Linked DNA regions of Homo sapiens: region 1 is linked to region 2. The links are contacts of gene promoters, found by promoter capture Hi-C in human tissues and cell types (Jung and others, 2019). All regions are on one chromosome and are shown on one strand. Each heading gives the region's core, a stretch centred on a gene start or on the middle of the fragment in contact. The rest is flanking DNA. Distances are from core to core; before and after follow the strand shown.

Evidence for each region. Contacts are between HindIII fragments. The study calls those that stand out against the background at their distance.
Region 1: a contact is called between a fragment that was not itself captured here and the fragment with the promoter of KRTAP11-1 in region 2, in 1 of the 25 tissues and cell types used here (dorsolateral prefrontal cortex).

What each region holds. Positions count from the first base shown.
Region 1 is chr21:31,961,910-31,965,127 of GRCh38, forward strand. The region is part of intron 5 of HUNK (hormonally up-regulated Neu-associated kinase); the gene reads left to right. Among named protein-coding and RNA genes, the nearest start is that of HUNK, 90 kb to the left of the region's middle. The HindIII fragment of the contact is 4,129 bases long and covers 1-3,218 here.
Region 2 is chr21:30,879,593-30,882,882 of GRCh38, forward strand. It overlaps KRTAP11-1 (keratin associated protein 11-1), which reads right to left and starts at 1,988. Exons shown (of 1, transcript NM_175858.3): 1 at 1,052-1,988. The coding sequence starts at 1,932. The coding sequence ends at 1,441. The HindIII fragment of the contact is 5,009 bases long and covers 514-3,290 here.

The DNA.
Region 1 (3,218 bases), core at 112-2,611, 1.1 Mb after region 2:
GCAGTAACAATCAGCCCCCAAGTCTTAGTGGCTCAGGACCACAAAGGTTTATTTCTCAGTCATGCTACATCTCAGTTGAGAGCTGGATCAAACATTGAAAGGTTCTGCCCAGCCAAGGGCCCAAGGCTGATGGAGCAGCCACCACTTCCAACATTTCTGGTTCATGCAGAGGGAGAAAGGGAAAGAGAAAGAGAAGTTCTTTCGCCAGCAATTAAATCTTCCACCAATCTTCCAGTTGTAAGTGGAAGCTTTCTAAAACATGGCATGCGGCTTCACCCAACTAAAGAGAATGGGGCAGTGCAACCTTACCATGTGCGTTGAAAGTGAAAAGCCAGAAATATTTGTTGATTAGCATTAGCATGAGCCCCACACAGCTGTGGGAAAAGGAGCAGACAAGCGCAGGTAGGTTAGTAACACAAGAAAATCAATCTCATTGCTTCAGAACCATACCTTGTTTTTACTTTCAATAACATCACGCAGTCTTAGCAGGCTGGGCTCTAAGTGTTTTTTGTGAAAATTAAATTTAACCTTAAAGAAGCAGGAGTTGCAGTTCTGAAGATGTTAAAAAATGGTCCAAAGTTAGTCCCAAAGGAGACATATTAAAAATGTTCCCAGCAATTTCAGCATCACTGGAATTGCTGTCCAACCTCGCATAGCTCCTGCATTGAGCAGACAGCTTTGCCTTGGCCTTAAGCTCTGTGTGTGCTTGTTAAAGATCTTCACATTCCTACAGGACTTTGTTGTCTTCACTTGTCAAGCATGAATTGCATTTCTATATCTGATTTTCTAATTAGGGAATCTGATGCTCTCCCCATCTCCTCCTTTTTAAAATAACTATTGGGATATAGAAATATCTTTTTTCAACTAGGATTGAAATCCTTTGAGCCAGGTGTCAAGTGAGGTGTTTGCACATGATAGACACTCAGGGAATCTAGGTTGCTGACTCTGGTGTTAATGTGTCTGTGTGACCTGGAAAGGTGGCCCATAGATTATTTTGATTACTCAGGATTGGGAATTGTCCTGACCCAGTAGGGCCCAGAGCAGTGCACCAGCTGCTGAGGCAGCCCAGGGCATCTTATCTGGTTCATAGAGTGAATGTCTTCAGGTTTGAGGATCAGCTGCTGCCCTTCTGACAGCCTCCCATTTTTTCAATCCTTTGCACCCCGCTAAGTTTATCTCCTCTCCCTTCCAACCAGCCTGGCCCTGCTTATATCCAAAAATACTAGTTTACCAGTAACATGAGTAGCTGCCACTTATTGAATAATCCTTTGTAGGTGTTTTTCATGTGGTGTTGTTTTTATACAATCCTGCAAGGTAAGTCCCTGTTTACCAGTGAGGAAATTGAGTCTCAGAGAGATTAAGTCTGCTTGACTGAAAACCTAGATTTTCCTACCATGCTGTGTTATTTCACTCTTCTCTGATTTTATTTAGTATAAGACGCACCCCCCCTACAAAAAGTTGGAGGTATTATCTATTGTCTCTATGACCTTATGTTTTGAGTAATGTCAATCCAAATAGAAAATATGCCAGTTTTATTGTGTCTCACTAATGCACATCTTTATTAATTGGATGACTCTGTCATTCATATTTGTTTTTGTTTTTGTTTAAGACAAGGTTTCACTGTGTCATCCTGGCTGGAGTGCAGTGGCACAATCATGGCTCACTGCAGCCTCGGCCTCCGAAACCAAGCAGTCTTCCCGCCTCAGCCTCCCAAGTAGCTGGGACTGCAGGCGCATGCCACCATGCCCAGCTAATTTTTTTTGGTGGGGGGTATATTTTTTATAGAGAGAGGGTCTCCCTATGTTGCTCAAGCTGGTCTTGAACTCCTGGGCTCAAGCAATCCTCCTGCGTCGGACTCTCAAACTGCTGGGGTACTGCACCTGGCCCTGTCACTCATATATGTAATGATCATATCTATTAATTCTTCGGCTCTTTTTAAAGATTAAGTTGGAAGAATTTTTACCAAACTTGAGTTGAAAACAGCATTATTGCCCTTGTGAATCCACAGAACATGCTTCCAAAGAACTGCCCTTCATTCATCTCTGTCATGCCGTTTGCAAACTTAAGCTTCGAGGGCCTTTCTAAGTCTCTCTTCTACACACTTTCTTTTTGCTTGTTGGCACTTGTATGTCACAGAGTAGCGAATGCCTTTTATGGCTGAGCAGTTTTTCAGACTGTTACCTTTTCATCACTACACCTCAACACTAGCATTTATAATACATTCCAAGCAGTCACTTCAGGTTATGATGGTTTTGTGCTGTGAATTCTCCAAAGTCAAACTGGAGGAGAAGCGTTAGCTTTTATGAGGGTTGAGTCAGTGCTAATTACGATGTCCAAGAAGGCACAATGATCAGATTATCAAATAATTTTTTAGCTTGGGAAGTGATGAGGAGGGAGCTTCAAGTGGGGAGGGGTCTCTATTTGCATCTATCAGGCTACACTAATGTGAAAAGTCTGATGACAGACCTGCAGCCCTTTCACTTGGTACAGTGTTCAGGTGCTCACACAAGCCAGTCCAGACTTTGGAAAGCTGATGGTTCATGAAAGAAAGTGGGGTTTGCGATGGAGGAAGGTGTTCTGTGTGTTACGTTGAGCAGGGTGGTACTATTTTTCCAGGCTTCAGTGGAGAACCTAAGTGTTATCTCAGAGGGGTGGAGGGTGGCGTGTGGCCTGTGGCCATGCCTGGCATGGCTTTCCAGGATGGTGAGGAATATTTTAATCTCTTTTGCCCATAAGGCAGGGGTTTTCAGGACCCTAAAACAAACTTCAAAGAGCTCTAAGGACTTCTCAAAGTCCTTTTTGGATAGTAATGCAATGTCTGTGACGTCCAAAGGAAGAAAATTCGTCAGCGGAGATTTGAACTAAAATTACTTGTGCTCATCAGCAGTTTTTGAAGATGCAGAGCGCTCGGTTATGAAAATAGAACAAAAATGCACATCTAGTTTGTCCTTAGCACTTCTGGTTCATCATACTTTGAAAAAGCCTGGCCTGTTGCCCAAGTCTTTTGAGGCAACCCTGGGTTGTTGCCCAAGTCCTTTGAGGGTAAGCAACAGCAATGTCTCAGAAAACATTAACTCAACAGCCCACCCGCTCCAATTCATTAAGCCCTCATCTTTTTTATCTGACCAATAGATGCCCCCAGTTAAGATCTAAATGACTCTTCCAATGCAGGGTTGTTAAAGGAAGGGAGATAGACATTCTGAAAAGCAGAGATCTGT
Region 2 (3,290 bases), core at 738-3,237:
GGGCCTGAAAAGTGCCTTCTCTTTCTTTCTCCTTCTCCTTCCATCCCGATTGATCATGGAGGAATCTTTTCCAAAGGTTTCTACTGTGATCCTCTAACTAAATAAGACTCAGCACTTCTCAGTGATCCCACTGCTCCCTTCCCTGCACATCTTTCTGAAATACCTGGTTTTCTGGGTAACTTTTCTTTTTCCTAAATGTAAGTTATTCCATGTGCCCCTAGAAATGGAAGGAGACGTAGAAGACAAGTTACTCCTAGAAATCTCATAGCCCTGGCCTGTAATCCCAGCACTTTAGGAGGCCGAGGCGGCAGATCACCTGAGCTCAGGAGTTCAAAACCAGCCTGGCCAACGTGGTGAAACCTGTCTCTACTAAAACTACAAAAATTAGCCGGGCGTAGTGGTGAACGTCTGTAATCCCAGCTACTCTGGAGGCTGAGGCAGGAGAATCACTTGAACCCAGTAGGCAGAGTTTACAGTGAGCCAAGATCGTGCCACTGCACTCCAGCCTGGGCGACAGAGTGAGACTCCATCTCAAAAAAAAGAAAAAAAAGAAAAAGAAAAAGAAAGAAAGAAAAGAAAAGAAAAATCATAGCCCTTACTTCACCGCACAGCTGAAGACTCTCTCTGAACAAGTAAAATATAAGATAATCCTTGGTTTGGTCACAGGGCATAATGATTAAGCCCATATTCTAGGCTCAGGAAAAAAAAAATCAGACCCTGATCAGCAAAGACTCTTGCAAACAAGGAGCTCTGTTGAGAAAACTAAATACCACCTGTTCTCACTAATAAGTAGGAGCTAAACATTAGGTACACGTGGACATAAAGATAAAAACAATAGACACTGGCAACTGGAAGAGCGGGGAGTGAGGAAGAGGAAAAGGGTTGGAAAACTACCTATTGGGTACTATGTTCAATACCTGACAGATGGGTTCAATCATACCCCAAACCTCAGCATCACACAGTATACCCCTGTAGCAAACCTGCACATGTACCCCGCAAAAACTAAATTAAAAGTTGAAATGTTTAAAAAAGAATTCTGCTGAGACATACATTTGCAATGCCAACTAATGCAGGTTTATTGAGAAATACATGGTGAGACAAGCTCTGTTTTTGTGAGACACAAAAGCAGAGGCCAGGAGATACAGCAGCAAGGTGAAAACATGTCAAAAGCATCAGAGACTGGGGTGTGGATGGTAAAGCTTCTGGACACATCCAGAGGCATACACAGCACCAGTGAGCAACCCTTAAAACAAGCTTAGGGCTGGCCAGAAAAATTTTAGAGTGCTAAAGACAGCGTGTGCATGGATAGTAGCCAGCAGTCAGGCGGTCACAAGAAGGGTCAGCTATGAAGAGCTATTCAGGGACAAGCAGCATGCTGGAAGATCCTGGAAACAGCTGGCAGGTCGTGGAGTCTTGATTCGCTCACTGGCTCCTACACACTTAGCAGGTTCTTCGGCAGCTGGACACGCAGGACTGCTGATACGTCCTGGAGACCCCACAGGCTGGCTGGCAGACAGTAGAGACTCCTCCCACTGGTTGGCAGACAGTAGAGATGCCGCCCACTGGTTGGCAGACACTGGAGATGCCTCCCAGGGGCTGACATCCACTAGAGACAAAGGTGAGCGGCCGGCTGTAGGTAGTTGAGCAGGGGTTGGAAATACAGGTAGTTTGTCGAGAGCAAGTCACCTGGCAAGGGTTGGAGACACATGAAGTTCGCCGGTAACAGGTTGGCTGGCAAGCAGTGGGCTCACAGCAGGTCTCTTGACAGTGGTCCAGGAGCCAAGAGCCAGTCTGGAAGGAACTGGGCAAACAGATGCCGCCCAGGCAGTCAGCATCAGTGGTGGAAGTCGTGGTAACTTGGGCCACTGGAACAATGCAGCGTCCTCCAATGGGCCTGGAAGAGCAATTTCTTGTGGAGCAGTTGAAGGACATGATGTCAGACAGAGGGCTGCAGGTAGCTTGCTGAAGTTACCTCCTGAGTTGTGAATGTCACTCCAGACTCCTGAGCTTTTATATATCCTTGCTGGTGGGTGGGGCTCTCTCCCTGGTCTCCGTGGCTTCTTTGGCTCAGACCAGTTTGCCTTAGAACATCTTGTGAATCTACACATTAATTGTCTCTTAAGAAGCCTTCACCCTCATAAAGAAAGTTTAGTAGTTTGGTAACTAAATCACAAGTCTTCTGTACTGTACTTAGTCTGATTAAGAAGGCTGGTTGGCAGCTTCAAAGCTATTGGTCATCCCAGCCCACACGTTGTCCCTCATTCATCTTGCTTATGATGAGTGTTGACCTGACACTCATCCTACCAAAGATGCCACCATCCTACCATCACACACTCTCTCCCTCCCTACCAGGACCAATTACAAGCCCATGCCCTGTTTCATTTGTCACTGGACTTAATATCTTTTAAACATAACTTAATCAGTCACTCTACCACACCTAACGGAGCTCCTCATTGGGAAGGTGCCTCCTTGAATATGTTTCAAGACAACAGTGACAACACTTGACAGGAACAAAGGGCACAGAGACTTGTATCCAAAGTCTGAGCTGGCTCTCAAAATTAATCAACTGACTCAAACAAGATGCCCGTGGGAAGGCTAGAGGGCAGTGGGACCCACCCTTTATGTTCAACCAACAAAGCAAATTAGAAGCTAACTAAGTGCAACTGTATTTGTAGCCAAGACCTTTTCTAAGTAAATTGGATGAGCTTTATTCCTAAAATGTTTAATTTAATAACAGTGGATAATAGTGACTCCTGGGTCTCATTAATATGCCAGTGGAAAAGGCTTAGTTAATTTTTAAAATTATCATAATGTTAATTTGAAAGGGTACAGTGTCTTTCTCCCAATTTGTTCAATATGTTCAAAAGATATTTATTTTCACACATATAGATAGAATGCATTTTAATTATGGACAAACTAAAGGCTCTTCAAGGTCATTGTCTCCATCAGGGATAAGGGGGAGGCAGAGCTGGGGGAAGCAGGCACTTAATCAATGTTTGGTAATGAAGAGATGTGTGAAGAGTGTGCTATATTTAATTATTCTTTTTATGCTTGGGGAAGCTATAGGGATATCACTCTATTTTATTTCATCTCACTACAATATAATGAATTTTAAACACCAGAATGATGGCTCGTTTGGGTCCACCTGAACATAGATGAATAAACTGCCTCAACTCTGGCAAAATAAGCAACTTCAACATCGCTTCAAGTGGTCAGTGGTATTTCTGTCCCAAAACAGCTGTAGCATCTGACTCATTTTTAAACTAGCTTACATGAGGGAGCGTAAGGGA